Regions from separate parts of the Homo sapiens genome. Here region 1 is linked to region 2. The links are contacts of gene promoters, found by promoter capture Hi-C in human tissues and cell types (Jung and others, 2019). All regions are on one chromosome and are shown on one strand. Each heading gives the region's core, a stretch centred on a gene start or on the middle of the fragment in contact. The rest is flanking DNA. Distances are from core to core; before and after follow the strand shown.

The links. Contacts are between HindIII fragments. The study calls those that stand out against the background at their distance.
Region 1: the fragment with the promoter of AQP10 here is called in contact with a fragment that was not itself captured in region 2 in 1 of the 25 tissues and cell types used here (liver).

What each region holds. Positions count from the first base shown.
Region 1 is chr1:154,318,474-154,324,601 of GRCh38, forward strand. It overlaps AQP10 (aquaporin 10), which reads left to right and starts at 2,620. Exons shown (of 6, transcript NM_080429.3): 1 at 2,620-2,787; 2 at 3,460-3,586; 3 at 4,509-4,646; 4 at 4,768-4,886; 5 at 5,116-5,333; 6 at 5,809-6,128. The coding sequence starts at 2,683. The coding sequence ends at 6,007. RefSeq lists a silencer at 2,399-2,590 and an enhancer at 6,013-6,092. The HindIII fragment of the contact is 14,849 bases long and covers 1-6,128 here.
Region 2 is chr1:154,601,910-154,608,320 of GRCh38, forward strand. ADAR (adenosine deaminase RNA specific) reads right to left here and starts at 6,277. Exons shown (of 15, transcript NM_001111.5): 1 at 6,083-6,277; 2 at 1-717. The coding sequence starts at 6,097. RefSeq lists a silencer at 6,051-6,160 and an enhancer at 6,161-6,411. The HindIII fragment of the contact is 4,982 bases long and covers 2,416-6,411 here.

The DNA.
Region 1 (6,128 bases), core at 1,370-3,869, 290 kb before region 2:
CTATTTTGAACAAGAGCTGAGTAAAATGAGAATGAGACTTACTGGGCTGCATTCCCAGATGGTTAAAGCATTCTAAGTTACAGAATGAGATAGGAGGTTGCCATAAGATACAGGTCATGGCCGGGCATGGTGGCTCATGCCATGACAGTTTATAAATGCCATGACAATGACAGGAAGTTACCCTATATGGTCTAAAAAGGGGAGGCATGAATAATCCACCTCTTGTTTAGCATATCATCAAGAAACAACCATAAACATGGGCAACCAGCAGCCCTCGGGGCTGCTCTGTCTATGGAGTAGCCATTGTTTTATTCCTTTACTTTCCTAATAAACTTGCTTTCACTTTACTCTATGGACTCGCCCTGAATTCTTTTTTTCTTTTTTTTGAGGCGGAGTCTCGTTCTGTCACCCAGGCTGGAGTGCAGTGGTGCGATCTCGGCTCACTGCAACCTCCACCTCCCGGGTTCATGCCATTCTCCTGCCTCAGCCTCCCAAGTAGCTGGGACTACAGGCGCCCACCACCATGCCCGGCTAATTTTTTTGTATTTTTAATGGAGACGGGGTTTCACCATGTTAGCCAGGATGGTCTCAATCTCCTGACTTTGTGATCCCGCCTTGGCCTCCCAAAGTGCTAGGATTACAGGCATGAGCCGCCGCACTCAGCCTGAATTATTTCTAGTGTGAGATCCAAGAACCCTCTCTTGGGATCTGGATTCAGACCCCTTTCCTGTAACAAGATTAGGCACCAGGAGAAACTGACACACATGGATGATATAACAGATGCCTAAATGGATCCTATGGGGGAACTGGAGCTGGAACAGCCCTTTAGAGTTGTCGCAAAGTGAGGCAAAGAGGCTAGACTTTTATATCCCTCCATCAATCAGTGTTTGACATGGGCCCCATAGGAGGGCATGTAACCTTCGGTGAGGCATCTTTCTGACTTGAAGGGCATTGCCCAATGAGGGAGGTAGCTATGTGGTATCAGCAGCTGGTATTTCCTACATGTAGCGAATGGGCATATTGGCTCCCAAGGGGGAATCTGGGTGGAGCACTATAGTATCCATTAAACCTAGTAAAGAAATATTATTTCTTTACTAGTCACACAGATGTGCCCAGGACAGTGGTAGAGCCCACAGGGTTACATAAATCATAATGGTAGCCCTCAAGAACTTCATAAACTGTATATGGTATTTTAAAAAGTTGCATATTGTCTGTTTCCACCTACTAGAACATAAGCTCTAGGAGGGCAGAGACTATGTTTTGTTCACCACTGTTTCTCCAGTGTCTAGACGTAGATTCTTTGAATGCATTTAATTGGAGCCTTGAGATATGAAGAAGTAGGATGCGGTTACTTCATGCAGAGCAAGAGTGGCATGCACCCAGAGAAGGCCAGGTGGAGCTCAGCATGAGTGTGAAGGCCTCATGTCAAGCCATGTCAGGGGACACAAAGATGGAGTATTCTCTAACCTATGTGACACTCGGCATAAGGGAAGTACAAGCACTCAATATGTGAGTTTCATTCCCACAGTCTGTGGTCTTTAGCCCAGTCTTTCCAGATGCCTATTGAGTTCTTCAAGCATCCAAATGGTTTGGGGTAAGGCTTCAGGTTCTAAATGAGAGGCTTTGTGGGTTACCAGCTGGAGAGTCAGAAAATCTGGATTTGAATTCACTCAGCCATGAAATAATTGTGTGATCTTGGGCCGGGCACGGTGGCTCACGCTTGTAATCCCAGCACTTTGGGAGGCCAAGGAAGGTGAATCACTAGAGGTCAGGAGTTTGAGACCAGCCTGGCCAACATGGTGAAACCCCGTCTTTTTTTTTTTTTTTTTTTTTGAGACAAAGTCTCGCTCTGTTGCCAGGCTGGAGTGCAGTGGCACAATCTCGGCTCACTGCAACCTCCGCCTCCCTGGTTCAAGTGATTCCCCTGCCTCAGCCTCCCGAGTAGCTGGGACTACAGGCGTGCACCACCACGCTAATTTTTTTGTATTTTAGTAGAGATGGAGTTTCACCATGTTGGCCAGGATAGTCTTGATCTCCTGACCTCGTGATCTGCCTGCCTCGGCCTCCCGAGAAACCAAGTCTTTACTAAAAAATATCAAAATTAGCCAGGTGTGATGGACCTGTAGTCCCATCTACTTGGGAGGCTGAGGCAGGAGAATTGCTTGAACCTGGGAGGTGGAGGTTGCAGTAAGCTGAGATGGTGCCACTGCACTCCAGCCTGGGGGACAGAGCAAGACTCTCTCTCAGAAAAAAAAAAAAAAAAAGTTTGATCTTGGGGAGTTCTAAGGCCCACTAGCCTCATCTGTAGAATGGAAGCAATAGTACTACTTTGCAGAGCTGACTTCAGGACCAAGAGATCTAATGTCTATGAAGCGGGGTACTTCCTTCTATTTGTCAGGATGGGGGAGGCTAGTCCTGTGATGACTGGGAATGAAGGGTAAAAGAGACAGAGGTTGGGTAAACTCCAGGCTCTGTGTTCATAGCCTGCTCCCAGACATTCTCTTGTTATCTCTCTGTTTCCTAGCCTACACACGTGCACAGACACGTAGCTGCTGTTCAGGAACTGAGCTAATGGTTTTAAAGTCTGTTCCTTATCTTTGCTGGAGGCAGGCAGTAGCTGTGCAGTGACAGTGTGCCTATGCAGACAGAGGGAGCAGTGAATAGCAATAGGGTGTTTCCACCATGGTCTTCACTCAGGCCCCGGCTGAAATCATGGGCCACCTCCGGATACGCAGCCTCCTGGCCCGGCAGTGCCTGGCAGAGTTTCTGGGTGTGTTTGTACTCATGGTAGGTAGGATCACTGCGGGAAGGAAAGAAGGGGGTTGGGCAAAAGTTCCTGGCTCCTTCTGTTGTCCTTATCTCTTTCTCTTGGTGTCCCCCTTCCTCTCAACTCCCTATCACTTTTCGTTTTTATCCTCTCGTCTCTCCTAATCTCCTTTCCTCTCCTACTTCATCATTTTTATTCTTGTCATTTTTATTCTTTCTTTAATAACAAGTGTATCATAGTTCTTGAAACATAATTTTTCTCTCTTCAGTTTCCCATTTTTATGAAAGACCATTTTCATGGTAAGACCAATGTGCTTTATTATACTTGGCCTGATGATTGTATAAAGTGCAGCAAGAATAATTATTTTTCACATAGGCTTTTAAAATTGGCTTTGATGGAACTCTTCCATAGAAAGAATCTTAGATAAGACTTTTTAAAGCTGAGCCCTGCCATGGGTTTGTACCCTCAAATGCCTATGAGTTGGGTAAATTCTTTTCTTTTTTCCCACATTCTTTCCCTTTCTTCTTCCTCCACTTTCCCCATTTCTTTTCCCTTCCCTCCTTCTGCTTTTCTCCTTCCCTTGCTTGTCTTCTGTGCTCATTCATCTCCTTGGCTGCTCCCCTGGCCTTCCCAACCTTTCTCCCTGTTGGTCTCCTGGGCTCCCTGTTCCTCATCTCTCCTCTTCTCAGCAGCTCCTCACCCAAGGAGCTGTGGCCCAGGCTGTCACCAGTGGAGAAACCAAAGGCAACTTCTTCACCATGTTTCTGGCTGGCTCTCTGGCCGTTACGATAGCCATCTACGTGGGTGGTAACGTCTCAGGTGAGGAGGGTGGGGTCTGGTCATCAGAGCACGTGGGATGTGCATGCCAGTTTGTCTGTCTGGTGATGGTGGAAACGCAAATCCTTCTGTGACTCGTGGACATTATCCCCTTGAACAGTGTCCCAGACTGAAATAAGCCTTTGGCCCCACCAGCCCCTCCTCTTTCTGTATCTCTCCATCCTGCTTCCTCACACTAATGCTTGGCTCACCTAGACAGAAATCAATGGCAGGGCACGAAGGGCAGCTGCTATCCTCTTGTATCCCCCACCTGAAGTCCTCTGGGGGCTCATCTCCACTCAGGACCTCTCCTGTTTGTACCCCAGATACACACTGCATCGGTGTGCTTGGGTGGAGCCTTGAGACATAGTGTGTTGCTGTGGAAAAAGCAGACAGACCTAGGTTCCAACTTTGGATTCACAGTGTCTTCTTCTTTTTTTTTTTTTTTTTTCTTTTTTTTTGAGATGGAGTTTCACTCTGTTGCCCAGGCTGGAGAGCAGTGGTGTGATGTCTGTTCACTGCAACCTCTGCCCCTGGGTTCACGCGATTCTCCTGCCTCAGCATCCCGAATAGCTGATTTTACAGGCACCTGCTACCACGCCTGGCTAATATTTGTGTTTTTAGTGGAAACGGGGTTTCACCATGTTGGCCAGGCTGGTCTGGAATTCCTGACCTCAAGTGATCCACTGCCTCGGCCTCCCAAAGTGCTGGGATTACAGGCGTGAGCCACTGTGCCTGGCCCACAGTGTGACTTTGCTAAGTCACTTAACATCTGTAACATCTGGAGCCTCAATTTCCTAAGCTGTGTGATGAGAATTACACTATCTGCCTTAAGAGCTATAGGAAGGAGCAGTAGTGTTGTCTGGTGACAATGCCTGGCAGTGACACTTAATAGATGCTCTTTTTCTTTCCTTGATACTTGAAGGGGCCCACCTGAATCCAGCCTTCTCCCTGGCCATGTGCATCGTTGGACGCCTCCCCTGGGTCAAGCTCCCCATTTACATCTTGGTGCAGTTGCTGTCTGCTTTCTGTGCTTCGGGAGCCACCTATGTTCTCTACCATGGTGACAGAGGGAACAGAGGGAGCTGTGCCTTGAGAGCACCTGTGGGTGGGCAGGGGTGCCTCAGAATGGTTTTGGATGAATGAGCAAAGAGGGAAATCCTGGGTGTTCCCTTCCTCCACAGATGCCCTACAGAACTATACAGGTGGGAACCTGACAGTGACTGGCCCCAAGGAGACAGCCTCCATTTTTGCCACCTATCCTGCCCCCTATCTGTCCCTGAACAATGGCTTCCTGGATCAGGTAAGTGTGAGGGGGAGACCTGGGGACACTACTTTGGTCCTGTTCCTCGGCACCCCAGCCTATTGTTCAGTCTCTGGGTGGAGTGTGGGTTGGGTCTATCTTGGCACTCCCCACCATCCCCAACTGCCTGTGTTGCACAAAGCCAGATGACATGGAATATTTGGATGAGAGAGGGCAGATGGAGCACCTGGCAGCTGACAGGGAACCCTCTGCCTCTGTTGACTCCAAGGTTCTGGGCACTGGGATGCTGATTGTGGGGCTCTTGGCCATCCTGGACAGACGGAACAAGGGAGTCCCTGCGGGTCTGGAGCCTGTGGTGGTGGGGATGCTGATCCTGGCCCTCGGGTTATCCATGGGTGCCAACTGCGGGATTCCACTCAACCCTGCCCGGGACCTGGGCCCACGTCTCTTCACCTACGTGGCTGGCTGGGGTCCTGAAGTCTTCAGGTGGGAGACAGACTCTCCTGGTGCTGGCCTCCACTCACCTTCCTCTGCTAAGGGCTCTGTCCCTGGGTCCACAGCACTCTGCCTTTAAAATAGCTCTCTTGGCTTCTTAGGACAGTGTTCTTTCTCCAAGTCATATTCTCCCCCTTTCTCCCTTGCTTCCCTCCCAACTTTTCACTGAAACAGTAAGATTTAGAGGTTGTGTTCTTAGGCATGCCACATTACTTCCATGCACATTAGTGACTTCATCAGCAAAATTAATATATTCAGATAATTCCCTAAGGCAAGAGGCTGGACCAAGCTCTCCTGGGGTTCCCTCTTCTAAATACTATGCTTTGGTGACAAGGCAATCCTCTTCCTGGTGTCTACCACCCTGGGAACAACTTTAGGGCACTCTCTTGTTACTGCCCCCCGTCCTTGGAGAGGGGAAGGCTAAGGGAGTCACTCCTGATACCTTCCCACTGTCCTTCTTTTGCAGTGCTGGTAATGGCTGGTGGTGGGTGCCTGTGGTGGCCCCTCTGGTGGGGGCCACCGTTGGCACAGCCACTTACCAGCTGTTGGTGGCTCTGCACCACCCTGAGGGCCCAGAGCCAGCTCAGGATCTGGTGTCTGCTCAACACAAAGCCTCAGAGTTGGAAACTCCTGCCTCAGCTCAGATGCTGGAGTGTAAGCTATGATTAGGACAACCCTCACTTCACTCATGGACCCTGGAGCCAGCCACTGACCCCGCCTGGGAACAACAGTCATTCTTCCTCTTTGTTAATGTGCCAGAACCTGGGAGGCTTCTCTGTTTATCTG
Region 2 (6,411 bases), core at 3,657-6,156:
AGGCTCAAGAAGATCTTCTGAGACAGATGTGGAGTTTCTGTCTTCCGGTTCCAAACTCGGGTCTGAGTTTGGGGCTCCTTGGCTATGACCGTCTGGTCTTACCACTCCGCTGTGCTGGTTCCAAGCCTGAGTGGAGACCGCGATTTTCCACAAAGGGGGTGTTCCTGCCTCTTTCTGTAGCTTGCCCTTCTTTGCCAGGGAGTATAAAACTCGATTGATTTCTTTCTTCGGAGTCCCAAGTTTCCCAGACAGATCATGTGCTGTGGTGGCCTTCCCTTCCCCAAGCTCTTCCAGGAACTTTAAGATCCTTTGTTCCTGATCTTGGTAGATACTCAGTTCCTGGAAATGTGAGGAAAGGCAATCAACACCTCTCTGTGGCAGACTCCTGCCACGTGGTGAAGGATGCTGGAACCCTCTCTGGAGCCCCTGACTTCTGAGATGCACGCCCCTGGGGACACCCCTGATGTCCACTTGCCTGCCTCTGGTACTGGAGGCAAGTAGTACTGGAAACCTTGGCCGGAGTCCTGGGAGGGAAGGTGGCAGTGACGGTGTCTGCTTTCCAATCACCGGTGCTTCTGGGAGCTGCCCCTTGAGAAATTCTATTTGCTTAAGCAGGAAACTACTGGGGGAAGATCCTGGCCCAGGCTGCTGGTACCTGAGCTGTCTGTGCTCATAGCCTTGAAATGGATGGGTGTAGTATCCGCTGAGGGAATACCCCTGCAGAATAAGACAGTGGAAAAAGAAAATGAATTAGGGCTGCAGTGGTGAACCTGTGGAGGCCCCTCCCTTTGCTGCCTGTGGAACAGCCCTTGAAGGGCTGAGAAGGCAATTGAGCCATGGGCTTATGACTTGGCTAGGGTGACTTGCCTACCTCCTAAATCCTGCCTAGGGGCCTGCCAACAGGAACACAGAGAGGGGAGCAGGAGGCAAAGCACGCAGAACTTCCAGGAATACAGAGGTTCTGAGGCCTCAGCATAGCCTCTCCAGCAACCTAACTTACTTTTCCCTTTGACAGAATTTAAGGGAGTTGAGAAGGTAATTTTCTAGTTACCAAAACAATTACCCCTTTAAAATCAGAACAACAAATATATGTTATTGTTTTGAAAACAAAAACAGAATAACCTGAAATAACCAGAACAATCACATGAAATAACAATAACCAAGGGAGATGGGACTAGGGAAGGGACGAGATGACCTCTCCTTAAGTCAGGCTCACCAGTGCACCCCTTGCCCACCTGTCTCTAAGATCTATCGTTTAGATGACTATGACAAAAGAAGAAATGTGATTGGATGAAACTGAACCCCAGTCCTCCAAGGCTGTAACAGCGCAGTAACGAAAACAATCTCCAGGTGGGAAAAGGCCACGGGACCTCAGAGTCATCTCTGTGGCTCTTCACTGCCATCCCAGGAGGATCAGAATTTGGTCTTCAGGGAGCTGGAGGGTTTCCTGATAAAAATGGCACACTGTCCTCACTCTTCAGTGTGGTACCCAGGCTCAGAAGGGATGCCAGAGACTTTTGCCCAAACCACCCAGGCTCTCCTGGATGTGTGGAGCTGGCAGCATCTGCTCCTCACCACCTCAGACCAGTCCTACCTTCCCTAGCTACTTCCCCATAGCTGCTTCCACTGCACGTTCTTCTGAACCCTGACGGACAGGGCACAAGCAACCCCATGTTCTCATATGCACATTTACCAGAACACCAAGCACCTGTGACCCCTTTCCCCACCCACCCACCTGCAAACCAGTACTGTCTTCTCCCCAGGGCTGTTCACTGGAGGGTGATGGAGCCAGGAAGTACTTATAAGCCTGGGGGTGTCAGTAAACACCTTGCTTCCTTTCCCTGGGGCTTGTAGACTGGGAGGAGGGATTCTGACAACATTTACTCACACTCACCGCCCCCTCCTCAGACTCTCCTGGAGGCTGCACAGGTAGAGGTGGGACCCTTTCTTCCATAACTCTAGCCTTCTACTCTTCCACATCCTGACACACTTAGGGGATTTCAGCATTCTTGTCAATCACTCTCATGGTGTCCTGGCTACAAGGATCCTTAACCCAGTGATCTCCATCCCTACCTTTCTGCCACACAATTGGCTTGTCTAGCTACTCCTTCAATCTCACTATGACTCTAACCTAGGCCATCACACCAAGACCTCAAATCCTGCAACTCTTTTCCAGTGGCTGATAAACTTTTTCTATAAAGGGCCAGACAGCTCTGCCACTGTAGCACAAAAACAGCCTCACACAATATGCAAAACTTTATTTACAATTCATTTACCATGAAGCTTTATTTATAAAAACAGGTAGTTTGTACCTGTGGGCCATAGTTTCTTGACTCCTGCTCTTTTCTGATGGTGACTTCCCTGTGTTTCTACAACTTCACTCCTTACTCTGGTGGAACCTGCTCCTCGCATGACCCCGGTGAAGCTGCCAGTAAGCCACCCTGATTCTTCCCCACTCTGACTTCACACACCTCCTCACCCCACCTGGATCTCATGGTCAGTTCCCTTCTCCACCCAAGGCCCACTGTCCCCCTTTTCTTCTCCAAAGCTTCCCAGTGGTACTGGAGAAGGACCTTGACTTGTGCTAACAGGGTCCATAAAAATTCCTTCTCTTGAACCTCATTTGGGTCTTCGCTGTGTGGTGGTCAATTGTGTTTAACAAACATGCCTTAGTTCACTGTGGATTGAGTACTCTTCTTTTAAAAAATTCTCCTCCCAGGGTTTGGTGACACAGCAAAGGTCTTTCACCTCTTTTTTCTTCTTTGTCCCTTTTTCCCACCCCTTATAATTTTTTAATAGCTACTGTATTAACGGATCCACCCTTTATATAATCAGTCTCCAAGGTTTTAAGGACCTCTTCTTCCTTTATAATTTATTTCCTAGGTTGCTTTAATCACTGCCCCAACCTAAACTAGCCCTCTGAAGCAAGAGCACTCAAATCTACTATGTCCAGCCACTACCTTGTGTGGGAGCTTAAGATCTGAATTTCCAACTATGTCGACAGTCTGTCCACTTAAATATCCTGCCATAACTCAAACAGCACATATTCTGAACCAAATTAATAGTTCCCTCAAACTCAGCTCCTTCTCCTGTAGTTCTTATTGCTAATGGCATCACTCTCCTCCTAGCCTATTAAGGCTAGAAACCTGCGTCATCTTTGCTGCCCGCCTCCTGGCCTCATCTCCTGGATCTCATCAGGTAGTTGCCAAGTCCCACCTTGTCTGCCACCTCTGTACTGTGTCTTAAATGTGTTTTCTTCCAGTTCCAGCCCCTCATTACCTCTTACTGGGCCATTGCAAAGGCCTATAATCTTTCTATCCCTCTACATGCCAATCCAGGTGGCACATCTCCCTCCACAGCCACCTATCACAACTCTGACCCTTTCCTTATAGAGCTCCTTAAATGCCACTTGCTTCAGGAGACTCCTGACTCCCACCTTCTTCAGCCCTTGGGGTTTCCTCTCCTTGAGCTTCTCCTACTCAGCACCTGTTAAACCATTTACTTTCCCTCGTATCAGAGCTACTGGATTTTTTTTTTTTTTATGGCACACACACATTGCAGTGTCTGAAAGGTAATTAACATTAGGTGTCCTATAAGTTATACTCAACTCTCCACTCTCAATATTCCCAACACAGTACTGATGAGGGGCTTCAGTTGATTCCATGGTGAGCTCTTGGGGGTCAAGGACTATGCTTCAATCATCTCAACCTCTCTAGCACTTGGCACAAAGCTGATTCTCAACAAACATTTGTTGAATTAATGACTGCATGAACAAGACGCCACTATGCAAGCAATCATTTCTTTCTTGTTCCTCTTGCTGCACCCTCACGCCCACCATATTGCTAGGGACAGAGGCAAATGTGTGTACAGAGTGAGTGCTGGCTCCCAGAGCTGAATTATGGGACTTAGGGGTTCTCCTATTAGCTCTTTGAGTGACCTTGGGAAAAAAAAATTGTGTTTCAAAGTGGCTAGAGTCAGTTAAAAGCTAAATGTTTTTTAAACTGCTACTCTTGGCCCAAATCTGGAAAATATTTTAATGTCTGTCTATAGAAGAATTAAATTATGAAACATTCATTCTATGGAATAGTACTCACACGGTTATTTTTTTTCTTGTGAGACGGAGTCTCGCTCTGTTGCCAAGCTGGAGTGCAGTGGCATGATCTCGGCTCACTGCAATCAGGCTGGAGTGCAGTGTGATCTCAGCTCACTGCAATCTCCGCCTCCCGGGTTCAAGTGATTCTCCTGCCTCAGCCTCCGGAGTAGCTGGGATTACAGGCGCACGCCACCACACCCAGCTAATTTTTGTATTTTTAGTAGAGATGGGGTTTCACCATGCTGGCCAGGATGGTGTCGATCTCCTGATCCGCCCTCCTCGGCCTCCCAAAGTGCTGGGATTACAGGCATGAGCTACCACGCCCGGCCAGTTATTTTATTTTTTTAAAATGTGTCATATCTATTTGTATTCACCTGGGGATAATTTAGGAATCATATAATGTTCAATAAAACAACAAAAAGTTGTAGAATAGTATGTACATTATAATTTTTTTCCCTAAACAAAAAGAGAAAATCCATGAATGTGTATGTGTGCGCACAATGGAATGAACACAGAGAAAAGAAAGGAGATGTAAGTTTGCTAAGGATATCTTAGGGCAGTAGGGTTAGAGGGAGAGGAGGAGATTATTAATCTTTCTTTTTGCCCCCCTTAAATCCCCTAAACACCAAGCCACCGTTGAGTACAGCCATTTGGAAAGCTACGGAATAGGAGAGCAAGAAAGTGAGCAAGCAACCCACAGTGATCCTTTCTAAATCTCTCAGCATCACCTCTATGCAAATTACATAACAACTCATTTAACATTCATTGCCTCCCAGATTTCACTTTAATCTGGTCTCACATATTTAGGATCAAGAGATAAGCACTACCCCCTTTGCCTTTACCACACAGGTTCCACAGTGCAATACACTGACACCTGTGCAGAAATGCTTTTCCTTCAAGTTAGGCGTCCTTAATCCTTTCAAAGGAGTGCTTAAAAAAAAAAAAATATATATATATCTTAACAAAATTGAGGTATATAATTTAGATACAGTAAAATTTATCCTTTTAAGTGTATAAATCTATGAATTTCGACAATCGCCACCACAATCAAGATATAGAACATTTCTATTTCCCTAAAAAGCTTTTTCATGCCACTCAACAATCAATTTCTTCCACGATACCCAGTCCCTGGCACCCACGGATCCACTTTCCATCCCTATAACTGTGGTTTTTTTTTTCCAGAATGTCATATAAATGGACTCATACAGTATGCAGCCTTTTGAGTCTGGCTTCTCGTGCTTAGCATAACGCACTTGCGAGTCACCCGTGTTGTTACTTGTAACAGTATTTCCTCTTCACTACTAAGCAGTATCCCATTATGTGGATGTATTTCAGTTTATCTGTTAACCTGCTGAAGGCCATTTGTGTTTTCCCAGTTTTTAGCTATAAAGTGGTTAACAAGCTTTCTCCTACAGCTTAAGTGCCATTTTTAACTCCCAGAAGGCCTTCAGGAGGTGGATAAGGTGAGCTGAGGATAGTGTGCGCTGCTCAAAGTCCGAACGTTGTTCAAGTGGGGCTAAAGCGGGGGTAGGGGGTTCCACAAGGGGCCCTAGCAGAAAGGGAGACGATGTGTCTGCCTTGACATGGGCTCAGGCCTTCCTACTCAGACGGGGGCGCATTTTCCCCCAAGCCCTCTTCACGCACTGCTCCATTCTGCAGAATTAATGAGCAGGATACAAATTCACAAATTCCTAAACCAGCAATGCTGCTTGGCAAGACTACACACACACGCACACACACACACACACACTCTCACAAGACGCACAAATTCCTAAACCAGCAATGCTGCTTGGCAAGACGACACACACCCACACACACACACTCACAAGACGCACAAATTCCTAAACCAGCAATGCTGCTTGGCAAGACGACACACACACACACACTCTAACACTCACAAGACGCACACGCTACGCACTGCAACACAAAGCCTGTGAGGTTGTAAACGAACCCAGACGGCGGCGAAGGTCCAAGGCCGGCCCGGCTTACCTGCCGCGGATTCATTGCGCCCGCGAGGCATTGCCCGGCCCGACCCGCCGGCGGCACGACCCTGGCCCGACCGCTGGGCCGCGCCAGCCCCTCGAGGCCCCCACGCCTCCGCTACTCCGCACTGGAAGTGGCCCCGGGGCGTCGGCACGGGAAACTCCGCGGGTCTGCGCGCCGGGCCCAAGATGGCTCCGGTTCAATTTCGCTTTCGTTTCCTCGGAAAGCCTTCCCCTCCGGAAAGTTTGGCCAAGAGGAGGGGCTTGAGCAAATCTTGCGCCACGCTTGGTTTCAGGCCGGTTACAAGTCGAACCCCTCCGCTGCATGAGAACTAC